3 separate regions of the Homo sapiens genome follow, and regions 1 and 2 are each linked to region 3. Evidence: promoter capture Hi-C in 16 types of primary human blood cells and fetal thymus (Javierre and others, 2016). All regions are on one chromosome and are shown on one strand. The core of a region is centred on a gene start or on the middle of the fragment in contact, and the rest is flanking DNA. Distances in the headings are between cores, read along the strand shown. Region 1 holds the start of LOC124903555 (a long non-coding RNA gene). Region 2 overlaps CRTC3-AS1 (CRTC3 antisense RNA 1). Region 3 holds the start of CRTC3-AS1 (CRTC3 antisense RNA 1).

Region 1 (3,493 bases), core at 47-2,546, 120 kb after region 3:
TTCTGATAAGAGAGGACATCAGTTGGCCAGTTTACCAGTGGGTGGGGTTACTGAGCCACAGAAGCTGAAAACAAGACCCGCCCTGGCCCTTTCTTTGTGCTGCTTGACCTGCGGCTGGGTGAGCAGGCCCAGGGTTCCCTTCTCTTGGCTTCCCGTCCCTGTGCGGTCAGTGTACCTGGGCAGGGCTCAGGAACTGCCTTGTCGGGGCAGCCTGGAAGCCAGTCATTTCTCTCCTGCTCTGGAACTCTGTGTTCTGCCAGGGACACAGTTTGTGGGGCAGGCCTGAGACCTTCCATGTAGCTGGTGGGGTAAGTGGGCTCGGAGTCTGGTTAACAGAACCCACCTACCAAGACAAGTTTCAGGGTCAGATTTAATATATAAAACTGGCCACAATTTGGCTCCTTCCTGATTGCTCAGCCATGTGTTTATTGTCATTCTACTTCTTTTTGTCCCTTTACCTCTAACTATGTCCCACTAGAAGACATCTTAAAGTGAAACTGTAAGGGAGGATATGAGTGGCATCTTTTTGAGTCCTTGCATTTATAAGAACATCCTGTTTCCCTCAGCAAATGAGAGGCAAACAGGTTGCATGTGGTATTGTGAAGTCAGAATATTTCCCCCTTAAAATTCTAAAGACCAATGTTTCCTTGTCCTTCAAGATAAGACGGGTGTTAGGTAACAGTTGGATTTTGTGATCACTTAAGTTTTGAAATTCTGGGTTAAAGATAAGAAGTTTATTAACTGCAGGACTTTTCAGAGCCCTGATATATACGGTCAGGCTCCAAGAGGTGATACAGAGTATGGTGTTTCTCAAATGTAATAGGCCATGCATCTCAAAGAAACAGTGTCCTATAAACCAATGTCCTAACATTTTCATCTCATTATGATGAAAAGAATCAAAGCAAGGCCCAGCCCAGAGAGGAGAATCATTCCTAACTCTAGTAGGTCTTAGGCATCTCTTCACGACCCTTCACGCTGGTGAACTCTTGACTTCCTTTCAAGGAAGGCATTTCGTGTTTCCTTCTGAGCGTGTCATCCACAAGGCTGAGAAAATATTTTATTTGCTATAAATTTATGTTAATAGTTCAGAAGTTTAGCAATGGTGTTTGGGACACGGCACGTCTGCCAACCTTGATGAGTGAGAGTAAGAAGGGCTGCTACAGACTGCACATCTGCAGAAGGGCAGAAGAGCTTCTCTTCCAAGTGCCCGAGCCCAGGCCCCCAGCCAGGAGCAAGCCCTGGCAGTGCCTCTCCTCCGCCTGTGTGGGGCTAGGCCAGGGCCCAGCTGCAGCTGTGCCTTGGTCTTGTGTGGCCACCCATGCCAAGGGCAAAGCCCACTCCAGAAGGAATCTCCTGTGGCAGAGCTCTGCGTGCTGTGGCTGCCCACTCTGAGAGGAGGCCAGAGTATTTGTTAAACAATGTTCGTTTTATTTGAGATCACCCTATCATAGGAGTGAACCCTTAAAACCCTTGTCTAAGCCAGTGTGTCTTAAATAACACCCAAGCCAAGAAACAGCTATAATAATTCTGATTTTTTCCTTTTGTTCTAACAAAGATTCAAACTAGTGTTTTATACTTTCAAATGAAGAAACTTCATTTAAAAAGTCATAGACAAATGTTCAAGGCCACAATTTTAAGCAGATTATTTCACAACCAACAGAATGCAGGTCGTGAAAGCAAAGACGGAATCACAGCCCTCCTCCTCCAAGTGGAATAGATTAACACCAAAATAAAATCATCCCATTTCACGGACCCTTGATTCCTCAAAAGAGACTGGGCTAAAGAACTTTCTTTGCATCAACCGATGTCCAGTCCCAGGAACCCAATTTAGGAGCTTAGGAGACCACAGAGACATGGCTCATGATCAGTGAATCTGACTCATACTGTCTAATAACTTTAATTTCTCTGCATATTAACTTGGTTTTTGTTTCTCCTTCCTTTAGGAGTTGACTAGCTTTGCTTATGCTCTCAAGTTGATCCATACAGTGCCAGATTATACCCTATCATAAGAGATAGGGTCCCCTGAACACAAGAAGTCATCTCCCCTTCTGGGTAGGACTTTGCACCACATTCTCTTCCCTCTGCCTGGAACATACCTCCCAACTGCTTTACTCTCTTAAATCTCACTCATTACCATCTAAAACCATTTTCCTTTCTTATTGCCTGTTTGCTGTCATCTCCCACAGGACTGTGAACTCAAGAAAGCAGGAAGTATGCCTCCCTTATTCATCACTGGGTCCCCAGTGCTTAGAACAGTGCCTGGCACAGAGACGGGGCTCTGTAAAGATCTGCTGAATGAACACTTTATCCTCTTACTTCTTATCCTTCAAGCCTCAGATGTTCCCCCAGGATGCCTTCTTCGTTTCCCCAGACTAGTTCAAGCTGCACCTCCGACGTGCTCCCACAGCCCCTGAGCTGCCTCCCTGCAGACGCCATACCTGCCGTGGCTGCTTGTTTGCTGAGTAGCCTCTCCCACTGAACCCTGGGCAACTTGAGGTCAGGGACCATGCTGTTTACTGTTACAGTGAATTAAAATGTCTAAAACGGTGTCTGACCACTAGCACATACTTAACAAATAATTTTTATAAGTGAATAAACATTCTCCTCTTTTTTCTTCAATTCCCTTCTCTATTTTGGTTAGTAAAACTATATGCATGCTTATACATTTAGACCGTACTTCAAAAGTATCTGAGATAGCCACATATACATACACACACGTATATATAGCATAATGTTTAATCTAATATATAGAAATGAGAGCACTGACAGGAAAAAGAGGGAACTGAGAACTGAAAAAATATACATTGGTTTTTTTTTTTTTTTTTTGAGACGGAGTCTCGCTCTGTTGCCCAGGCTGGAGTGCAGTGGCGCGATCTCGGTTCACCGCAAGCTCCACCTCCCGGGTTCACACCATTCTCCTGCCTCAGCCTGGGACTATAGGTGCCCACCACCGAGCCTGGCTAATTTTTTGTAATTTTAGTAGAGACGGGGTTTCACCACGTTAGCCAGGATGGTCTCAATCTCCTGACCTCGTGATCTGCCCACCTCGGCCTCCCAAAGTGCTGGGATTACAGGCGTGAGCCACCATGCCCAGCCAAAAAAAATACATTGTTAAATCAATCAAAGAAACACTCCAAGTCTTTTGCCTGAATATTCTTGGCAATTTGGACAACGGTTTGATGTACCACTCCATCCTGACATGTACAAATTTGCTGATGAATTGCCTCCATTTCCTTTTGCCTTTTTCATTCAATGTCAAAGTTATCACACATTCCAGAATAGATTCTCAAGATCATTTATCATCTTTACTTTCCTTGATAACAGCCACATAATATACAAAATCAGAAGTCAGTCCTTCTGTGGACCAAATGTGGTGTGTTCCTGGGGGCGGGAGAAAGGGGAGAGAAAAACATTCCCTGGGGTCATTATCCTTGCCTCCAAATAGACTAAAAACTGCAAGAAGCTTGAAGGCAAGAAAAGTTGGGGTTTCCCT
Region 2 (3,569 bases), core at 392-2,891, 66 kb after region 3:
GCCGGGCCCCTCTCCTTCCAAAAGCCAGGCCAGTGTAACCCGGTCCCCATGTCATGCTGGCTGGGTCAGTGTTCTCTCCTAGGAATCTGAAGCTTGAATGGGGGAGAAACAGGAGTCCAGGAGTCGCTGCAAATGAGCCATATGGACAGTCATGGGAACCAAAGCTCAGGGCTTTTGAACTTTCTTGCCCAAACTTGCAGGTAAGTCCTGGAAACAGAGACCTTTGCCTCTCCATCCAGACTGGGCCTTCCGGAAACAGAGACCTTTGCCTCTCCACCCGGACTGGGCTGTCCTGGAAAGGTACAGATGGAAAGGATGAAAAGAATGGCATTGGCCGGGTGTGGTGGCTCACACCTGTAATCACTTTGGGAGGCCAAGGCGGGCAGATTACTTGAGGCCGGGAAGTCAAGCCTGGCCAACAGGGCGAAACCCTGACTCTACTAAAAATACAAAAATTAGCTGGGTGTTGGGGTACGTGCTGGTAATTCCAGTTACTTGGGAAGCAGAGGTTGCAGTGAGCCAAGATCATGCCACTGCATTCCAGCCTGGGCAGCAGAGCAAGACCTTGTTTCCAAAAAAAAGAATGACATTGGCTGCCATTTAATTGGGTGCTGGGGAGTCAGAATCGAATCAGACGTAGTCCTTATGTCACGTTTCTTATAGACCAGTGGGAAGGCAAACGCTCTACCACAAAATCAGCTCTACAGTTAAAACAGTAAAGCTGGCCAGGCATGGTGGCTCACGCCTGTAATCCCAGCACTTTGGGAGGCCGAGGTGGGTGGATCACGAGGTCAGGAGATTGAGACCATCCTGGCTAACATGGTGAAACCCTGTCTCTACTAAAAGTACCAAAAAAAAAAAAAAAAAATTAGCCAGGCGTGGTGGCGGGCGCCTGTAGTCCCAGCTACTCGGGAGGCTGAGGAAGGAGAATGGCGTGAACCTGGGAGGTGGAACTTGCGGTGAGCTGAGATTGCACTACTGCACTCCAGCCTGGGTGGCAGAGCGAGACTCAGTCTCAAAAAAAAAAAAAAAAAAAAAAAAAGTAAAGCCGTGGAAATCAAGTGCAACTCAAGCACAAAGGGAAATGAACAGAGGTGGTGTATCAGTCAACTGTTGTCACATATATGCTGTGTAACAAATGGCCATAATTCAGTGGCTTACTACTCTCAGCGTTTATCTTTGGCTCACGTGTCTGTAGATTTCTGGGGCAGCCCTGCCGATTTCAGCCGGACCTGGCTAGATGGCTCCTGGGCATGGGTTTGGTTAAGGTCTGTCCTGTCTCTCATTCTTCTGGGACCAATGGGCTACCCAGGGAGTAGCTGTGCTAGTGGCAATGGCAGAAGCACAAGAGGGTGAGCCGTGTCACCGAGCCCATGTCAAGGTGCAAGGGCCTGAACCCAGTGGGCCGGGCTCCAAGGCCTCCTGACCCCATGTCAAGGCTTTGCTGTTTGGTCGTATCTCCAGCATGTCACCGGCCAAAGCAAATCACGTAGCCGAGCCCGAGGGCAAAGGGGCTTGGGGGCAGCTGGCAAGGCCTGCCATTAGGTCTGCGGGTGCCTGTTTTCTGGGCTTGGGGGTCAAGTAGATGGGAGACACCTAGACGGATGGGAAATCTTTTTAAAAATGGGGGGGTAGAGCCTAGAGATCCCACAGTAGGAGGGGAGGGAAGTAAATATTTGCAAATGAGAATCCAAACCTCACAGAAGGCTTCACAGAGGAGGTGTCACTTGACCTAGGCCTGGAAGGAGAAGTTAGATTTTTCTAAGTGAAGATGGGTGTTGCACGGTGAGCAGGTGTATGCAAACCTAATCCCAAAGGCCGAGGGAGCTGAGAGGCTGAACACAGAGGCTGACAAATCCAGTTGCTTAGGAACATTTAATAGGGACTTAGAAACAAAAGCCATGTCTCGGGCAGCCAGGAGATGGTGGATCCCCACATTGTTGCCCCCCCGAGACCCAGGGCATATATACCATAGGGTTATGATAACATATTTATAGTGTTTACAGCACCACAGTTTTATGATACAGATTTACAGTGTTTATAATAACATATTTACAGTAAGTGTGTGCTCTTAACAGTAGATAAAAGTAGAAATCTTAAAGGCATTCCTGGAAGTGGGGTTAATCAGAAGTCAACATGACGCATTAGCACCCAGGAGGGAGTTGCTTTGGCCTCCAAGGTGGGATAGGGCACAGCTGTCAAAGGGTTGATGGGGAGGAGGCATTGAGGTCCCGCAGCCTGGCATGTCCTTTCCTTGAACACAGTACTTGGGACCCCACCCCAGTCATTTTATTTCCAAATTCTAAAACTTCAACTCTGTGTCACCAGATACAAGTTCAAGACACAGTGGTTTTTAGCAAGTCATCGTAATGGAGGGTACAGTGCTTTGTCCCTTTCCTGTAAATTCCATCGAGCCTGAGTCAGTTATATAGCCCACTCACTCCCATTTCAGAGTTCAGTCTCCAACCTTGCAGTCCAGCAGTGACATCCCTGTGACTGTGACCAACTCAGACCTTGAAAAGACTCCTTGATGACAAAGTCAAGGTAGCCATGAGGTGAAGGAAAATAACCCAAGAATGGAAAAACCCATTCTAGAAGGACAGGCGGTGGAACAGGGAATCCATACACACACAACAGGCCAAACAATGGTGGGAACGATGGTTACAGGACAGGATGTAAGTAGTATAAACCTTGACAATGTAAAAACACGAACTCACAAAATTTGGGAGGGGGAAGGAGCTAGGAAGTGGTGGTGAGCTCATTTCCTTATCCTAAATCGTAGGTTGTCAAGAGATGCCATCTATAGTTGAAACATGCTGAAAGAATGAATCCAGCTGCTTAATATTTTTCTTTCCTTTAGAGAAATAATTTAGAACCAGAAGAAGCAGCGTCATTATTTGCAGCTTGGTAATTTCTTTAGTTACATTTAAGTTGCCTTTTGTTCTGTTAAATTTAAGTATGGCACTTTTTCTAAAAAGAGTATGTATTGTATGAGCCCATTTTGGTTAAAAAAACTCCTTTGAATATGTGCGTAGAGAGATGTCTCCATCCATGTTTCCTGGGTGTCAGCCATGATTATTTCTGGGGTGCTGGATTTCCGGACCACTTGAAATTTTTGTTTTTGGTACTCTTCGGTGTTACTTGAATTTCTTATAATGAGCATGCACTATTTTTATCAGAGCAAAGCTTTTTTAAAAAATTAAAATACATGTCTGGAAAAGAGAGAGAGAAAAAAAAAACACGTGTTCCTTTGCCAGGCTTCTATCTCACTGGGATCCGTGGGGACCCTTCCCAGAGGGGCTGCTCAGAGCCCACCTCTGCAGGGTGAAGGGTGCGATTCATTTCCGCACCCCTCACCCTGGTGATGGGCGTAGTCGGGGGCCGGGGGTGCACAGGGGAGGGAAACTTGTGAGCAGATCCTGAAGGATGCACTTTGGAGCCCTGGGTTCTGGGCTGGTGAGGTCAGGAGGCCTTGATGTGAGGCCCACTGGGTCCAGGCTTTGTGCCTTCACTGTTTAGTTGGGTGACAGAGCCTCTATGGGCCTGTTTCCTCTTCTGTAAACTCAAGA
Region 3 (3,486 bases), core at 322-2,821:
TTATAAGGTACCTGTCATGGTGAGTGGCATTGAAAGTGACACAGGACCCAGAAATTTCATTTCTTCCCAGTAGATTATAAGCTACTGTCTGACAGTATAAGCAGCCCAGCTAACAAAATGTTGATTTAATTAATTCTATTTACTATTCCCCAAACAGAATACTTTTGCCTACCCGCTTCTTCATCTTCTGATCTCTCATGCAGTCTCTCGAATTCCTGTCCCTTAATCTTGACAGTGACACACCAGTGTTATTTATCTGCATGGGTGGCACAAGGAGCTGTCAGTCACCTGCTCCATCTCACGCCATGAGGTACCTAAAGTTCTGTGTGACCTAAGGACAGGTGAGGGCTATAGGAGAAAGCCTAATGTTGTGGGACATACTTTAAAATCAGGCGCTTAGTTCAAATCCTGTATCTCTAGCACTTAATCACCAAATGCTCTTTCTGTACGGAGACAACCTCTTTGTACTTCAGATTCTCCATGTCTAAAATGGGGACAATTTCATCCGCTTCTCTGGGTAATGATAACAGAACCCTTACTGTGTACTATGTAACAGGTAGCCTTCGAAGCATTTATTATTGCATATATTAAGTCGTTTAATCCTAACAAAAACGCCAGGAAGTAGAAGAGACCATTTCCCCCATATGACAGACGAAAACCAAGACACTTAGTGTTTCAGTAACGTGCAGTAGACACAGAGCTAAATGTGAAGGAGCCAGAATTCGAACCCAAGCAATCTGATGCAGTATTCTTAAGCACTTCGCTTTGCTGGGATATCGTAAAGCTACAGTTGTAAGATCAAGGGTGCCAGGAACATGGCACACAGTAGACACTCAAAAACAAGAGTAGCCCAGCTCGTGATTATGGAAGGCCACAGAAAAAGTACAAAGTGTTTTCGTTGTTCCTCAGGAGGGACACGGAGGTAGTAGTGCCAGAGGTCTGGGCTGGGATTACTCTGTGCAGGGCATCATGTTACGCACTGGAGTATATGGGCAACAACATGCCAGGTCCTAGCCCATGCTCGGCCTCCGACGCCCCGGGAGACCTTGGCAGAGTTCGCCCCCGCCCCGGGCCTCTGTTTCCCCATTTGGGAACGTATTTATGTATCTGCTGTCCTCCCAGGATGTTGGCCAGACTAGAGGACTCAGCGGGCCGAGGCGAACCAGTGCAGGAAACGGAAGAACCCGAGCGGCCTCCAGCTCCGGGCCGGGCCGCCAGAGCAGGGCTAGATCAATGCGGACCGACCCGTAGTTACGCGCGCGGTACTCACCTCGCACGCAGACTCCTAGCGGACGGAACCAGGATCCAAACTTCCCGCGCCGCAACCACGGCCGCCGCGCCAAGCCCTGGCTCACTTCCCGCCGGAAGCTTGCCTATTCCGATTGGCTGCTTCCTGGGGAAGCCGACCAATACTGTCGCACTCGGACATCTGTTCCCGCCCCCTCAGGCTGCTGGGGCGGGGTCGCCGTACAGCGCCGGGAGGGACGCGTATCTCCAAAGCCCAATCAGAGTCCGGACGGGAGGGTCAGATGACTACGGTTACATCTCGGGCTTCCGGAGCTAGTTGGGTCTTTGTTTTTGGTGTTTTAGAGTCGGTGAAGGCTTTAAAGGAAGTAGGCAGCTGGAACCCGGCTGTGGCGGGTTGAAAAGCCCGGGCGTTTGAGAGCTGAGACTTGCCAGTTCCCACAGGCCAAGCCAGGCGTCTGCACCCCATTCTCTTGGTTCCGACGGTGTGTCTCTGCGATGTTTTGGCGGTCTCTCCTCTCCATCCCCTTAATAATACTGGTCTCTGTTTCACCCGTACCCCTCTACACGAGCAGGTGCAAATTGTCATTGAACCGGGAAAGTGGGCACACACTCAGATGCCTCCATGGACACGTGAGAAACCATGCTTCTGTTTCAGCCTATTGCTGACACGCGGGAATGTGGGCCCTGTGATGCCAGATCTTACTTTCTTTCCTTTCTTCCTCTCTTCTCCCCTCTCTACTTCCTTCCCTCTCTCCTTCCCTCCCGCCCTCCCTCCTCTTTGTGTGTGTGATAAAATCTATCTAACATAAAATTCACCATTTTTAAGTGTACAGTTCACTGGCATTAAGTACATTCACATTGTTGTGAAACCATCACCACTATCCATCTCCAGAACTTTTTCATTATCCCAAATAGAAAATCTGCCTGTTACACAGTAACTCCCCGTTACCCGTTTCTCACAACCCCTTATAGCCGATATTGCACTTTCTGTCTGTAAGTGCGAGGTACCGCATATAAATTGAATCATACAATAATTGCTCTTTTCTGATTGGCTTATTTCACTTAGCATAATGTCTTCAAGGAGCATCTATGTTGTAGCATGTATCAGAATTTCTTCCTTCTTGAGGCTAAATAATATTCCATTATACATGTATACTACATTTTGTTTATCCATTCATCCATATAAATGGATGCTTGGTTATTCCCACCTTTTGGCTATTGTGAATAATGCTGCTATGAACTTTGGTATACAAATAATCATTCTCCACATAATACGCAGAAAGAGTTTTCTAAAATGTAAAAATCTGTTCAAGTTACCTCCCTCCTGAAAATCTTCTATGGTAAATTGAAACCAAAATATGATACTATTAAACACTCCATAGAATAGCTGAAATGAAAAGACTGACAATTCCCTTAGTTGCAAAGATGCAGAAATGGGACTCTCATACAGTGTTGATGGGAGTGTAAAATGGTACAACCACTTTGGAAACATCAGTCTCTACTGAAATCAAATTTACCCCTACCCTATACCCCAGAAATCCCATTTCTAGATATTTACCCCAAAAAATGAATGCCTTTATTCACCAAAAGACTCATAGCAGCTTTATTCATAATAGCCAAAGGGAAAAAACCCAGATGTCCACCAATAGATGAATAGATAAATTGCAGCTTATTCATATAACTGTATACTACTGTTGAAGAATAATTTTAATATCAAATATAATACAGATATAAAATAAATGTTAGAGATTTTATTTAACTCATTAATGAATGAGATATCCAGAAAGATTACAACTGCTTCAATGGAAAATTCAAAGTACCACACACATAGTCAAATGAGGAATAATGAAATAACTACAAATATATACAAAAACTGGCAGAACTGATGAAATCCACAGCTTAGTAATCAATTGCATTCTACTGAAAACAATTTGCATTTCTTTTTTTTTTTTTTTTTTTGAGACGGAGTCTCACTCAGCCGCCCAGGCTGGAGTGCAGTGGCGCAAGCTCGGCTCACCGCAACCACCATCTCCCAGGTTCAATAGAGTCTCCCGTCTCAGCCTCCCGAGTAGCTGGGATTACAGGCACCCGCCATCATGCCCAGCTAGCTTTTTGTATTTTAGTAGAGACAGGGTTTCACCGTGTTGGCCAGGCTGGTCTCGAACTCCTGACCTCAGGTGATCCGCCTGTCTTGGCCTCCCAAAGTGTTAGGATTACAGGCATGAGCCACCGTGCCCG

What was found. Contacts are between HindIII fragments. The CHiCAGO score rates a contact against its expected background, and 5 or more counts as called.
Region 1: a fragment that was not itself captured here is called in contact with the fragment with the promoter of CRTC3-AS1 in region 3 in 1 of 17 cell types (erythroblasts); the score reaches 5.0 in erythroblasts.
Region 2: a fragment that was not itself captured here is called in contact with the fragment with the promoter of CRTC3-AS1 in region 3 in 2 of 17 cell types (megakaryocytes and erythroblasts); the score reaches 6.8 in megakaryocytes.

Annotation. Positions count from the first base shown.
Region 1 is chr15:90,594,894-90,598,386 of GRCh38, reverse strand. All of the region lies in intron 3 of CRTC3 (CREB regulated transcription coactivator 3), which reads right to left. LOC124903555 (a long non-coding RNA gene) reads left to right here and starts at 2,409. Exons shown (of 2, transcript XR_007064758.1): 1 at 2,409-2,496. RefSeq lists enhancers at 1-190, 2,358-2,427. The HindIII fragment of the contact is 4,338 bases long and covers 1-3,465 here.
Region 2 is chr15:90,649,393-90,652,961 of GRCh38, reverse strand. All of the region lies in intron 2 of CRTC3-AS1 (CRTC3 antisense RNA 1), which reads left to right. Among named protein-coding and RNA genes, the nearest start is that of LINC01585, 9.1 kb to the left of the region's middle. The HindIII fragment of the contact is 3,094 bases long and covers 95-3,188 here.
Region 3 is chr15:90,715,225-90,718,710 of GRCh38, reverse strand. It overlaps CRTC3-AS1 (CRTC3 antisense RNA 1), which reads left to right and starts at 1,571. Exons shown (of 4, transcript NR_120372.1): 1 at 1,571-1,730. It overlaps BLM (BLM RecQ like helicase), which reads right to left and starts at 1,365. Exons shown (of 22, transcript NM_000057.4): 1 at 1,271-1,365. The HindIII fragment of the contact is 2,609 bases long and covers 1,371-3,486 here.